Linked DNA regions of Homo sapiens: regions 1, 2, 4 and 5 are each linked to region 3. The links are contacts of gene promoters, found by promoter capture Hi-C in blood cells and fetal thymus (Javierre and others, 2016). All regions are on one chromosome and are shown on one strand. Each heading gives the region's core, a stretch centred on a gene start or on the middle of the fragment in contact. The rest is flanking DNA. Distances are from core to core; before and after follow the strand shown.

Region 1 (2,700 bases), core at 196-2,695, 490 kb before region 3:
CTGTGTCTGGGTTGGCAGCAGCAGCAGCTCATCCAGGGCAAACTCACACGTTTCAGGTGACTTAAACCTTATGCTAAATTCTTCCCTTCCCTTCCCCCACTTGACTGGCTAAGGACAGAAAACCCACCTAGCTATGCAAAAAGGTTATATGAGTCAGAGGGTCCAGGCATGTCGTAGGTGGTCTGTGTGATGCATGGGGAGTGGGGGGAATTCATGAAAGGTAATCTATTATTGCCTAAATTGAGAGAGTTAAAGGGTTGCTTTGCCGGCTGCGGTGGCTCACGCCTGTAATCCCAGCACTTTGGGAGGCCGAGGCAGGCGGATCACGAGGTCAGGAGATTGAGACCATCCTGGCTAACACGGTGAAACGCCATCTCTACTAAATATACAAAAAATTAGCCAGGCATGGTGGTCGGCGCCTGTAGTCCCAGCTACTCGGAGGCTGAGGCAGGAGAATGGCATGAACCTGGGAGGCAGAGCTTGCAGCGAGCCGAGATCATGCCACTGCACTCCAGCCTGGGCAACAGAGCAAGACCCTGTCTCAAAAAAAAAAAAAAGTTGCTTTAAGTGGCATGGGAAAACCTTAAGGAAAGTTCACAGTAGGTCTTCAGTGGTGGAGGGAACCATTCCAAAGCAATGCCTGCACCTATCTAAGGTCAGAGACATCTAACAGGCTAAGTCAGGGCCCTAATGGGGAGATGCTCCCAGGGACCCCAGTCTGGGCCCAGAATTTTTCCAGGAGGATGCCTCAGGTAAAATTTGGGTCACCTGGTCAGTCCTCTTCTCTTTTCCAGACCACTGTGGGCAACTCTCTACCTATTCCACCTGATTCCCCGCTCGGCTACGTCCTCCACCATTGCGATCAATTTGACCCTGACAATCTAAAGAGAAAACATATAATTTTTTTCTGCAGTACTGTCTGGCTCCATTATGAGCTGCCCAGCCTGGAAAAAATGGGTAGTCAATGGTAGCCTTAATTATGACATCATCCTGCAATTAGACCTATTTTGCAAGAGACAGAGCACATGGTCAGAAATCTTGTACATGCAGACTTCCATGACGCTTTACCAAAACCTAACAATCTGTGAAACTCCCAGAACCCACCCCACAAAGGAAAGTTCTAAGGGAGAACTACATATTATAGATGACCCCCTCTTACAAGGGCCACCTGTCTCTCAGAGTGAACAGTGACCACCCCCATATAGCCCCTTGCAAGTGCTCCTGAGGCTCAACCCCAGGAGCAAACACCAGAGACCCTACTAAGTCCCCCTCACATTCGGAGGGGAACCCTGTATTCAGCTCTTCTTCCAGCCCTGCTACACCTTAGGGAAGTAGCAGGAGTTGAGGGGCCAGTCCTAGTGCAGGCCCCCTTCTCTATAACTAATATTCAACAATGTAAGGAAAAGCTAGGAAGCTGTTCTGAGAATCCTAGGAAATTTGCAGATGAGTTCCACACTTTGACCTTAGCCTTTGATCTCTCATGGAGAGATGGTCAATTCATTCTAGCAACCTGTTGGCACTCCCTCAGGAAAGGAACAAATCTTTGAGGCTGCCAGCAGGGAAGTGGATGAATTATCCACCTGAAACCCTCAGGGCAATTACCGAGGCCCAGACACAGTTCCCACTACTGATCCTAATTGAAACTATAACGCCCCCATGGGAATGAACCACCTGGCTAAATTTCTTGAGGCTGTCCTTGGAGGAATGAGAAAGGGATTAACTAAGGCAGTAAATTATGATAAAGTAAGGGAGGTTACATAAGGCAAGGAGGAAAATCCAGCCATGTTTTATGGTAGGCTGGAGGAAGCCTTTAAATATATACTAATCTGGACCCTTCTTCTCCCGAAGGCAAAATATTAATGGCACAGCATTTCATTAGCCAATCTGCCCCAGATATCAGACGTAAACTCCAAAAGCTACAGATGGGGCCACAAGCTAATCAAAATCAGCTTCTTAATACTGCCTTTATGGTGTATAACAATATGACCTGGAGGAAGGAAAAAGAGAACAGAGTAAAGAAAGACGGCAAGCCAAAATTATGGCAGCCATCATTGGTGATGCCCTGAATGCCCAAAGAGCATCTAAGGGAAACCCGAAGGACTATAAAGATAATACCAGCAAAGGCAAGTCTTGCTTCAAATGCAAGAAAAGCGGGCATTGGGCAAAGGAATGTACTAAGCCCCCGCCCTCCAGCTCCCCTCAGGCCCCTGCTGTCAACGCAAAGGCACCAGTCACGAACCCTGGCACTGGAGAATTGATTGCCTCTGCTCCCACTGAGGGGCTGGGTTAGGCAAAACTCTAGCAGTGCGAAAGGAGGAATCAGATGAAGACTGAAGGGGCCCGGGGTCTTCCTCACTGCCCCTGTCCAGGAACTTTGTAATTACTACTGGGGAGCCTGGAGTAACTCTGGATGTCACGGGCACCCAAATTCAGTTTCTTTTTGTTACAGGGGCAAATTACACTGTCCTTACTGCTTATGCAGGGAAACTTCCCTCCTGGTCCATGAGTGTTATGGGAATGGAAGGGAAGCCACAAACCAGATTTTTTACTCCTCCTTTGATTTGTCAATTTGAGAAACGAATCTTCCAACAGGAGTGCCTAGTAGTATCAAGCTACGCAATCCCCCTGCTGGGAAGAGAGATTATGGTTAAAATAAGGGCACTACTACAATTTAAGCATCACCCAGTGAAATTGCTAATA
Region 2 (2,700 bases), core at 74-2,573, 450 kb before region 3:
TCTCGTGCCTCAGCATCCCAAGTAGCTGAGATTACAGGCACGTGCCACCACACCTGGCTAATTTTTGTATTTTTAGTAGAGATGGGGTTTTGTCATGTTGGCCAGGCTGGTCTCAAACTCCTGGCTTCAAGTGATCCTCCCGCCTCGGCCTCCTAAAGTGCTAGGATTACAGGTGTGAGCTACCACACCTAGCTGAAACTGATCTTCTTGCGTGCCATTTGAAGGTGAGTAAATTGGTCGAACCTTCCAATATTAGACATGTAATATTAGATGTGTATAAAATTTTACAAATCAATATGTTTATTTTTTAATTTTAATTTTAATTTTTTATTTTTTGGGACAGGGTCTCACTCTGTCGCCCAGACTGGAGTGCAGTGGTGCGATCTTGGCTCACTGCAACCTCCACCTCCTGGGTTCAAGCAATTCTCCTGCCTCAGCTTCCCAAGTAGCTGGGGTTAGAGGCGCATGCCACTACCGCCTGGCTAATTTTTGTATTTTTAGTAGAGACGGGGTTTCACAGGTTGGCCAGGCTAGTCTCGAACTCCTGACCTCAAATGATCCACCCACCTCTGCCTCCCAAAGTGCTAGGATTATAGGCATGAGCCACCGCACCTGGCCTAAATCAATATATTTATTAAAGCAAATTAACCTGCAAATTAAAAAGTGGAAACAATTTAAACACTCAACAGTGAATGACTAAATTCATCCATAGGGATGTTCTGCTCATCATTAAAATTAACACATTTGCAGAATAGTTAATGCTGTGTAGTAAGTGCTCGTAATATATTTGAAAAAGTAAGATATGAGGAAGTATATGTAATATCATTGCATATGTATATGTAGATGAACAATATATGCCACCAGGTTATGGGGTTCTCTCTGGGTCGTGAGATTTTCTTTCTATATTTTCATGTATTTTCTGTACTTTCTACAACAAATGCCTACTAGTACTTTAACTGGAAGAAGATGTTTATAAATAATTTAAGTATTAAGAAATTGAGGCTGGGTACCTTGGCTCATGCCTGTAATCCCAGTACTTTGGAAGGCCAAGGCAGGCAAATCACTTGAGCCTAGGAGTCCGAGACCATCCTGAGCAGCATGGCAAAATTCCATCTCTACCAAAAATACAAAAATTAGCCAGGTGTGGTAGCACACGCCTGTAGTCCCAGCTACTTGGGAGGCTGAGGCAGGAGAATTGCTTGAGCCTGGGAGGCGGAGGTTGCAGTGAGCCCTGATCACACCACTGCACTCCAGCCTGGGCAACAGAGCAAGACCCCATCTCAAAAAAAAAAAGACAGAAGAAAAAGAAAGAAATTGGAATGGGGGTAGACTGGGGACAGATGGTGATAGCCTTAACTGCCATTCTGAAGGAGTTATCTTGTTTTGTCAAGAGCTGGGGACTCAAGTACAAGGCCACGTGCTGCCTGTGGTCTGAAAGCTGTTTGTGGAAAAGAGTTCTCCACCATTCTCTGGTGGTGGTTATCTGAAAGAAGGCAGCATTTCATGAGATTATGAACTTATTTCAGATGACAAAACTGAGACCCAGGGGCAGCCCAAGAGGTCTGCCAAAGCAGATGACGTGGGATCTTTGTTCTTGCCATGTTTGTGAAACATGGCAATCGTCTTATGCAATATTTGAGCTCTTAGTATGTGCAAGACACTGCAGTTGCATTATTTCATCTCATCCTAAAAGAGCCTCATGAGAAATCCGAGGCATGGAGAGGTCATACAGTCACACGGTGTTGGATTTAGTATTTGAACCCAGATCTGTGTGATTCTAGAATTCTGGAGTTCTTAACCACTCTGCTCTGCAGTCTCTGATATTCTCACACCTGGTTCTAATGCTGATTTGAACATTATGGCACAGTGTGACAGTGTCTTAAGTCTCCCTGAGCCTCAGTTTCCTCGCCTGTAGTGACCTTTACCTCACAGTGCTGTTGAGAGGAGCTGAGATGAGAGCTTAGAGTTTGAACACTATGGGATCATCCAGTTAAACCACCAGACGTCCTCATCCCCACCTCACAGAGGAGGAAGCAGAAGCCAGAGTGGGAAGGGATTTGCCCAAGTTTGTAACAGAGCTGGCACTAGAATCTAGGCCTTCTGGCTCCCATAAAAACATTGTCTGAGTTCAGCTAATCAGTCGTGGCAACAAGGAAGAGACAACCATTTATGTTTATCTCCCTTCTTCCTCCAGCCCAGGGTGGGGAGGCTGGCTGCTGTCACTTCCCCAGATTCCGGAGTTGACAGCTTCTCTGAGTCGTGCCTGGACCAGGCTTCCTCCTCTTCCCTGGAAAGGGAGGATTGAGTCTTCACCAGGGTGGTGGGGGAGCTAAATTGTCAGGTCTGCCCAGCCACTCAGCAGATTTGGGGCACGAGGACCTGGGGGAGGCCCCATGACTCCCTCAGTCCTCCAGGGGCTTACACATGCCAGGCTCTGTGCCCAGCACCATGGGGGAGAAGCAGGCTATTCTAGAAGACTTCCCTTGATACATCTTCCCTCCCCAGTGAGAAGCATGCTTTCTAGAAGTATTTCAGTGGTTCTTCAGTTTAGGACATTTTTAATAATTTTTGTCGAACATTTTCATAGCCTCTTCATAGTTTGACTTGTGTTTTTGTTTGTTTGTTTTTTGAGACAGAGTCTCACTCTATTGCACAGGCTGGAGTGCAGTGGCGAGATCTTGGCTCACTGCAACTTCCACC
Region 3 (2,700 bases), core at 154-2,653:
GTTATACCTGCAAGCACTAGAGTCAGAGAGAAAAGGGTTCTACCTCCATCTATGAAACCTTATAGAGGAGTCACTGCACTTCCCTGTGCCTCAGTTTCCTGCTCTGTAAAATAGAAATAATGATAGCCACATGCTTTTTGGAGCTGTTGTAAGAATTAAATTAGACAATGTATGTAAAGTTTTGACACAGTGTGCTGCACTTAATAAGTGCTCAATAAATGTTTGCTAATAGTATTCAGTTCCCTTTCTTCTCAATCACCAACTCTAACGTCAGACAGGTAATAATACAACACTACTACAATTATAAAAATGTAGACCTGGTGGCAGGCAACAGAGGCTCCAGTTTCTGCTAGGCAGTTCTAGGTGGTCATTTTACATACTGGGGAGTCCCAGTTAGAGAAAGGGAGTCAGGCTAGTGGGACCAAGGGATAGCAAGAAGAGCAGATGCACTCTAAGTCTGCCTTTCTTCATGGTGCAGGACACGTAGCCCTCCTGTGCAAATAACTCACAATCTTCCTGCACTCAGCTATCACGAGACACATGCAAGTTAGCTCCCTGTAACCTTGGAGTTCTCGGTACTGCACAGCACTCTGCAGCCCAAGAACCATCGGATAAAATCTCCAGCAAGCCTTTGTTTCCTTGAAGTCAGCTCCTCTCTGGCTGGTCTGCCCATTGCAACCTTTCAACGTATTTTCATACCTTCTCTAATAAATCTGCATTTCTTTACCTAAAACTGTTGATAAATTATTTTCCCACCCATGTAATACCAGTCTCACGTAGTCGCTGCTCACCCAAGAGGCAGACCTGAGCCTTAGTTTACACATTAGAAAAACGTAGACGCCTACCAACATTGTTCATTCATTGATTTCATTCCCTCCTTTTCATACTTATTGAAGGTCCACAATACAGACTTAGACCTAACGCTAACTATGTACTCAAAAACCTGCGTTTCAAATGAGATAATGTATGTGAAAGTTCCCAAAGGCCATTGGCAAGACTCAGAAGACAGTGCTGGTGTGACTCCTGTCTTGCAGTCCCCACGGAGCCCTGTCCCTTTGAGACCTTCCATTTGTCTCCTGGATGCTCGCCTGTTAAGTGGGGCAGAGGAGGCCGTCGTAAATAAGACAAAAGATCAGGCTTCCATTCTGGAAGAAAAGAATAAAAGGAGCTCACTGAGTCCAGACCTAATGGCAGTAAGGGCAGTGGACGCTCACAAAAGCGCTGGGGGACGGGCCCAGAGTTGGGGAGAAAACAGGGATCCCAGCTGCGCACGCGCGCTCTGGTTTTCGACGGGCGCAGAGCCGGACGAGGTGGGAAACCTAACGTCAAAGTCTACGTAGGAAGTCGTAGGGAAGGCAGCGAGGAAGACGCTGGCTCTCGGGTCACGTGATGCGCCGGGAGCGTCATCGCCTCCTCCCTCCCCAAGATGGCGTCCTTGCTGCAGTCGGACCGGGTTCTCTATCTAGTCCAGGGAGAAAAGAAGGTTCGGGCCCCGCTCTCGCAACTCTACTTCTGCCGCTATTGTAGCGAACTGCGGTCGCTGGAATGTGTGTCTCACGAGGTAACAGAGTCGCCCTATAGCGAGTATGTGGGGTGGGGGGGGCGCGGCGTTCATGCTAGTCACTGCCACCGGAAGGCTGGAGCTATTTTCCTTCCTTACTGATTGGTTATGTCTTCCGTCACTCGGGTTTGCCTGCGATTTAATTTGCTTCTAATCTGTCACTTGGAAAGGAGGAGCAGCCTCGGGTGGGACTGAGCGGATCTTCTGGTTCTAGAGCGGCCTCTGATTGGACAAACTTGACTTAGGGACCGTGTCTGTCTGCGATGGGGCTTGGTAATTGGGTGGACTACGGAGAAAGGTCTGGGGGTGCTTAGTTCAGGCCACTTAAGGGGCGAAAAACTGCCTTTCCAGGATTTATTGCGAGGATGGAGGGAGGCGCAGGCGTTCTCATTCATAGTTCTCCCATCCTGAAAGTTCTGTTCCTCTTTTGTCCAGAAACTGGGCCCTCGTCAGACTGCCTTGCCCTGTTCCTGACTCAGGCCAAGGCCTGCAGCCGGGAAGAGGTTGGGGCGGCGTGAGTTATGTGAAAAGCGCTCAGAATACAGTATGTCATGTAAGAAGCTGAAAGTGTATTTATGGAGCTAGAGGACAATGCTGTCCTTCCCTGGCACAAGTGGGCGTCCGAAGTTGGATTTTTCAAAAAGAAGACCCCGGCCAGTAAAAAGTCACCAAATAACAAAACCCCAAAACTTCTGCAGCGCTTGGCACATCTTGTTTATTCAGTAAGCTTTAGGGATTAAAAGGCGAGTAAGACATAAAATGCGCTGTTTAATAAGCCATAGTCTTAGTGAAGAAAAAGCTGATAGTAGTAATAGTTGCTGCTTATTCGATACTTGCTATATGTCATGTGCTTTATGTAATCTTCAAACCAATTTAAGTGGATACTTTTTTTAAAAAATTTTTTTTACAGGTAAAGAAACAGATACAGAGTGTTCGCTGTAAGTCACACAGCCAGTAATTTGGGGGTGGGAAGGAGGACCTGGATTTGAATCTAAACAGCCTAACTCAGAGTGTTTTTTACTGAAGATCCCGGGACTGTTAAAATAAATGCATATGAAAACACATACTATAAGCCATTTTATGTGTTATTAATAACTTATTTTATTGAAGATACTTTTCATAATAGGAATAGTCAAGAA
Region 4 (2,700 bases), core at 121-2,620, 280 kb after region 3:
AGTATGGACTCAAGCCAGGCTTCCTGGGTTTGAATCCTGACTCTGCCACATATAAACTATGTGACTTTGGGCCAGTTTTTCAAACTTTCTGTGGTCAGCCCTCCTCTCTAAAGTGTAGATAATAATAGTACAACATACCTCCCAGGGCTGTTGTGAGAATTACATAAGTTAAATATGTAAAGCCCTTAGTGTGTTATCTGTTATAGGACAAGCACTGTACAGTTACAGTTGTCCCTCAGTATCCATGGGGGAATGATTCCAGGACATTTCATGGATATCAAAATGTGTGGATATCCCTGATATAAAATGGCTTAATATTTGCATATAACCTATGTACATCCTCCCATATACTTTAAATCATCTCTAGATTACTTGTAATACCTAATACAATGTAAATTGTATGCAAAGAATTGCTATATTTTTTAGAGAATAATGACCCAAAAAAAGTCTGCACATGTTCAATACAGACAATTTTTTAAAATATGTTTTCGATCCATGGTCGGTCGAATCCACAGATTCAGAATCTGTGGGTATAGAGGGTTGACTGTTTAAATGTTAGATGAATGATTCATTGTGATCCTTTAGGTCTGAGATTTTTTTTTTTCTTTTTTTCTTTTTTCTTTTTTTCCTGCAGGCTGGAGTGCAGTGGTGTGATCACGGCTCCCTGCAGCCTTGACCTTCCAGGCTCAAGCAATCCTCCCACCTCAGCCTCCCAAGTAGCTCGGACTTCAGGCATATGCCACCAAGCCCAGCTAATTTTTAATTTTTTATAGAGACAGAGTTTCACCATGTTGCCCAGGCTGGTCTTGAACTCCTGAGCTCAAGCAATCTGCCTGTCTCTGCCTGCCTCGGCCTCCTAAAGTGCTGGGATTACCAGCCTTTTTTTTTTTTTTTTTTTTTTTTAAATGTGTCAGGCTCTCGCTGTGTCATCTGGGCTGAAGTACGGTGAGCAAGATCACAGCTTGCTGCAGCCTCAAACTCTTGCACTCAAGCAATCCTCCCATCTCAGCATCTCTAGTATCTGGGACCACAGGTACATGCCACCATCCCCAGCTATAAGTCTCCAATTAAACTTAATTTCCTCCTGGGCTTTTCCTCAGACCCTAATCCAAACCAGGCTTCCTGTATACACTTCACATCTCCCTCTTTATCACCCTCGTAGTTACCTGTCAGCTGCCACTCTCTCCCTCTAGATTGTGAGCTCCATGTGGGCAGGACTGTGTGTGTCTCAGACGCCCTGAGCCCCAGTGCCCCAAACAGCACCAGGCACATTGTAGGCAACCAGCACATACTTGCTGAATAAACAGATGAAATGAAAGTTCACAGGTTCATTATGAAACAGAGGACACTGTCTACCTAACAAAATGCCCATCAATGGTACTTCACTCTTCATTCAACAATTATTAGTGCCTCTTCTATAGTCTTCCTCACACCATCCTGGTGGCAGAAGGGAAATAGGGAGACACAGAGATGAATAAGATAGATGTGGTTCCTGTCCTCAAAGACTATACGGTCCACTGTGAGAAAGTGCCGTAATGCATAGGAAGATACAACGCAGTGTAACCACGTTGTTTTAGTCTGTAACAATTTTGTTTCCTAGGAGGCTGGGGCTGGTCTTTGGAACAATGAAAGTGAAAAGTAACTGAAAACAAACACTGTTGCCTACTTCAGCCAGCACCACCAGTTCCCAGCAAGCTACTTTTCTGTCTCTCTCCCTCCCTCCCTCCCTTCTTCCTTTCTTTCTTTTTTTAACAGGGTCTTGTTCTGTGGCCAAGGTTGGAGTGCAGTGGTGTGATCATGGCCCACTGCAGCCTGGACCTCCCAGGCTCAAGCAATCCTCCCACATCAGCCACCTGAGTAGCTGGAATTACAGGCACGTGCCACCTAATTTAAAAAGAAAAATTTTGCAGAGGCTGGGCACAGTGGCTGAGCTGAGGCAGGAGGATCACTTGAGCCCAGGAGTTCAAGACCAGCCTGGGTAACATAGGGAGATCCCGTCTCTACATACATACATACTCTAGGCATAGTGTTGTGCGCCTGTGGTCCCAGGTACTTGAGAGGCTGAGGTAGGAGGATCACTTGAGCCTGGAAGATCGAGGCTGCAGTGAGCCATGATGACATCACTGCACTCTAGCCTGGGTAACAGGGTGAGACCTTGTCTCTTAAAAAAAAAAGAATTGCCGGGTGCAGTGTCTAATGCCTATAATCCCAGAACTTTGGGAGGCCAAGGCGGGCGGATCACCTGAGGTCAGGAGTTCAAGACCAGCCTGGCCAACATGGTGAAACCTGGTCTCTACTAAAAATACAAAAATTAGCCAGGCATGGTGACGCACGTATGTAATCCCAGCTACTCGGGAGGCTGAGGCAAGAGAATCGCTTGAACCTGGGAGGCAGAGGTTGCGGTGAGCCGAGATTGCGCCACTGCACTCCAGCCTGGGTGACAGAGCAAGACTCCATCCGTTTCAAAAAAAAAAAAAAAAGTCCAGGCGCGGTGGCTCACGCCTGTAATCCCAGCTCTTTGGGAGGCCGAGGCGGGTGAATCACGAGGTCAGGAGTTCGAGACCAGCCTGGCCAACATGGTGAAACCCCATCTCTATTAAAAATACAAAAAAAAAAATTAGCCGGGCATGGTGGCGGGTGCCTGTAATCCCAGCTACTTGGGAGGCTGACGCAGGAGAATCGCTTGAACCTGGGAGGCGG
Region 5 (2,700 bases), core at 42-2,541, 370 kb before region 3:
GAGGAAGTCTTGGTTTGGTGCCGCCGTCTCTGCAACACTTGCTGATTTTCCTTTTTCACAAAGAGAAAGCTGAGAGAGCTCGCTTTAAGTTTCAGAGCTTCTGGCAAGTAGAGGCATCATGTTAAATTTCATGGTATATCACCTCTTTTGTTTTTATTATGTTGATTTTTGTGGTAAATTGTCAGTTTATGATACATGGTATCAACTTCCTAATTCATGGTAGTTATATAAAATTAATTTCATCCATTCCTTTTTTTTTTTTTTTTTTTGAGACAGGGTCTCACTCTGTTATCCAGGCTGGAGTACAGTGGCATGATCATGGCTCACTGCCACCTCCCCAGGCTCAGGTGATCCTTCCACTTAGCTTCCCAAGTAGCTGGGACCTCAGGTGGACACCACCACACCTGGCTAATTTGTGTAGAGACAGGGTTTCACCATGTTGCCTGGGCTCATCTTGAACCAATGGGCTCAAGCGATCCTCCTGCCTTGGCCTCCCAAAGTGCTGAGATTACAGGCATGAGCCATTGTGCCAAGCCTCATTAATCCACTTAACAATTATTTTTTGAGTGTGCCTATTATGTCAGACACTGTTGTAGGCACCTGGGATATGTAACAGGATAAAACGGATACAATTCCTTGCCTTTTGGGAGTAATTTTAAATGCACTTCAAAAATTGATGCATTTAAGTAGACAGAAAAGAAGTTGAATTACATAAAACCATTAAGAGATGGCATAGTGTGTGTGCTAATTTGGAATAGTGAAAGTCCTTTAGGAGTGACTGAAATTTGGGAAACTCTGTTCTGGTATTTCAGAACTTTTCTGCTGCCTTTTCAGGGGGAATGACTCTTTAAGAGGCAGAGGGGGCCTCGGGGGCAGGGTAGGATTCAGAAGAATTGGGGATGCCCCGGTGGAATAAGCAGCCAAGGGGCACTAGAACCGAGGCAGATCCCGTGGCAGGCGGGAGCCTAGCCAATTTCTCTTGATCAGGACTTGCCCTGCTCCCAGCCCTGAGTCCCTCTCTCCCTCTCTCTATATCTTTCTGTCTCTTTCTCTCTCTCTCTCTCTCTCTCTCTCAGCTCTCGTGCAGGGTCTGTCTGCTGTGGCTTCACCTCTGCCTCTTTCCCCACCCACGCCGCTTGGTTTGGGCTCATGGGGTGAGCTTCCCACCCTCGCATGCTGTCTTTCAGCCTGGTCCCCAGGGGGGCCTTCAGACACCTGCTGAGTCTCTTTCTGCTTCTCACAGCTGAAGGGAACTGTGCGCCCAGCCAATGACTTCAACCCTGACGCAGATGCCAAAGCGCTGCGGAAAGCCATGAAGGGACTCGGTATGGGGGATGGGAAGGGAGCAGGGTTGGTCTCCAGGGCAGCAGGTGTGGTGGGTTTGGCCGTGGGCTGGCAGGGGATGGAGTGAGGTTTCAAATTAGAGTCTGCAGGATGAGGAAGGCTTGATCTCAAGTTTCCACCCTCCTAGCTCCCAGAGTATAGAGAGGAGGGGCAGGAGAGGGTTCATAAGGAACTTGGCAGAAGCCCTTTCCAGGGACCAAGGTGTCCCCCAGCCTCCTGGAAGCAGTATCCTGGCACTGAAGAAAGTACCAGGTCACAAAATTGGCATGGTGCCCTGGCTCTGCTGCTGACTCACCGTGTGACTCTGGGTGAGCCTCTCCGCCACTCTGGGTCTGAATTTCCCTATGTGTAAAATCAGGGCTGTGGACCCTGGAACCCAAGAGCCCTCCCTCATTCTGTGGTGGGAGTGTGCCCTGCTGGGCAGGTCTTTCAGACCTATATTTGGCACCAGTGGGAAGAGTACTGCACCCACAGGTTCAGATCAGCTGGGCCTGTGCTCAGAAAGTCCAGCCTGGGACAGGCCATCTAGGGTTTGGCTTTCTTTGCCTTTCTGCCCCATCTGTCTGACAGCAACTCCCAGGAGGCTTTAGGTTAAGTCCATCACCCTCCTGAGCCTCCTTTCCATGTGTCTCATGGGAATGATGATACCTGCCAAGCTCGCCTGGGACTGTAGGATGCTAGAGGTAAAAATGCCATGAAAGACCCCTGTGCTGGGTCTGTGGTTGATGGCATTAATCTGAGAAGCAGGAAGTGATATTCTAATGCCTTCCAGAGTCAACCTGCTGTGGTTAGAGGGACTCAGGGTCCAGCTTCCAGAGAGCTGAAGAGAAAGGACATAGAGTTGCTAACAGGACTTGGACTGTCAGGGTTGGAAGGATCCCTTGGTGACTACTCCAGCCTCTTCATGTTACAGATGTGGAAACCAAGTCCCATCAAGGGAAGGGGACTTGCCCAGGGTGGGCAGCCATTGCCAGAGCCAGAACTAGAACTCAGAGGCACTGACTCCCAACCCAGTGCTCTCTACCTCCCAGCTGTCCTTTTTCCTCAGCGTGTCAAAAGGAAAGGGAGGGAGGAGTCCAGCAGAAATCAGTGGCCTGAGCCATAGGCAAGCGGACTGCAGGGACTCAGGAGCACATGGCCGCTTAGCCAGGCTTCTACCCTGACAAAGATCGATGAGGGGCCATCAGTGGGCGGTGCATGGGGAAAGCCGAGAGCCACAGGCCTTCTTCTGAGGCATGTGGCTTTGGTGACTCAGGGACTGACGAAGACACAATCATCGATATCATCACGCACCGCAGCAATGTCCAGCGGCAGCAGATCCGGCAGACCTTCAAGTCTCACTTTGGCCGGGTAAGG

What was found. Contacts are between HindIII fragments. The CHiCAGO score rates a contact against its expected background, and 5 or more counts as called.
Region 1: a contact is called between a fragment that was not itself captured here and the fragment with the promoter of DCTN4 in region 3, in 1 of 17 cell types (naive CD8 T cells). The highest score is 5.3, in naive CD8 T cells.
Region 2: a contact is called between a fragment that was not itself captured here and the fragment with the promoter of DCTN4 in region 3, in 1 of 17 cell types (fetal thymus). The highest score is 5.0, in fetal thymus.
Region 4: a contact is called between a fragment that was not itself captured here and the fragment with the promoter of DCTN4 in region 3, in 1 of 17 cell types (neutrophils). The highest score is 6.5, in neutrophils.
Region 5: a fragment that was not itself captured here is called in contact with the fragment with the promoter of DCTN4 in region 3 in 4 of 17 cell types (naive CD8 T cells, naive CD4 T cells, fetal thymus and 1 more); the score reaches 7.3 in naive CD8 T cells.

The regions. Positions count from the first base shown.
Region 1 is chr5:151,247,774-151,250,473 of GRCh38, reverse strand. It overlaps LOC124901115 (a long non-coding RNA gene), which reads left to right. Exons shown (of 3, transcript XR_007059003.1): 2 at 1-56; 3 at 795-2,700. Among named protein-coding and RNA genes, the nearest start is that of GM2A, 4.1 kb to the left of the region's middle. The HindIII fragment of the contact is 3,862 bases long and covers 1-2,700 here.
Region 2 is chr5:151,208,180-151,210,879 of GRCh38, reverse strand. The region is part of intron 1 of CCDC69 (coiled-coil domain containing 69); the gene reads left to right. Among named protein-coding and RNA genes, the nearest start is that of CCDC69, 15 kb to the left of the region's middle. The HindIII fragment of the contact is 3,784 bases long and covers 1-2,700 here.
Region 3 is chr5:150,757,720-150,760,419 of GRCh38, reverse strand. DCTN4 (dynactin subunit 4) reads left to right here and starts at 1,403. Exons shown (of 13, transcript NM_016221.4): 1 at 1,403-1,561. The coding sequence starts at 1,427. RefSeq lists enhancers at 1,328-1,627, 2,058-2,127. The HindIII fragment of the contact is 18,997 bases long and covers 1-2,290 here.
Region 4 is chr5:150,478,131-150,480,830 of GRCh38, reverse strand. The region is part of intron 2 of NDST1-AS1 (NDST1 antisense RNA 1); the gene reads left to right. Among named protein-coding and RNA genes, the nearest start is that of NDST1-AS1, 6.5 kb to the left of the region's middle. The HindIII fragment of the contact is 7,537 bases long and covers 1-2,700 here.
Region 5 is chr5:151,122,911-151,125,610 of GRCh38, reverse strand. It overlaps ANXA6 (annexin A6), which reads left to right. Exons shown (of 26, transcript NM_001155.5): 15 at 1,244-1,325; 16 at 2,600-2,694. Among named protein-coding and RNA genes, the nearest start is that of ANXA6, 34 kb to the left of the region's middle. RefSeq lists an enhancer at 1,266-1,766. The HindIII fragment of the contact is 3,901 bases long and covers 1-2,700 here.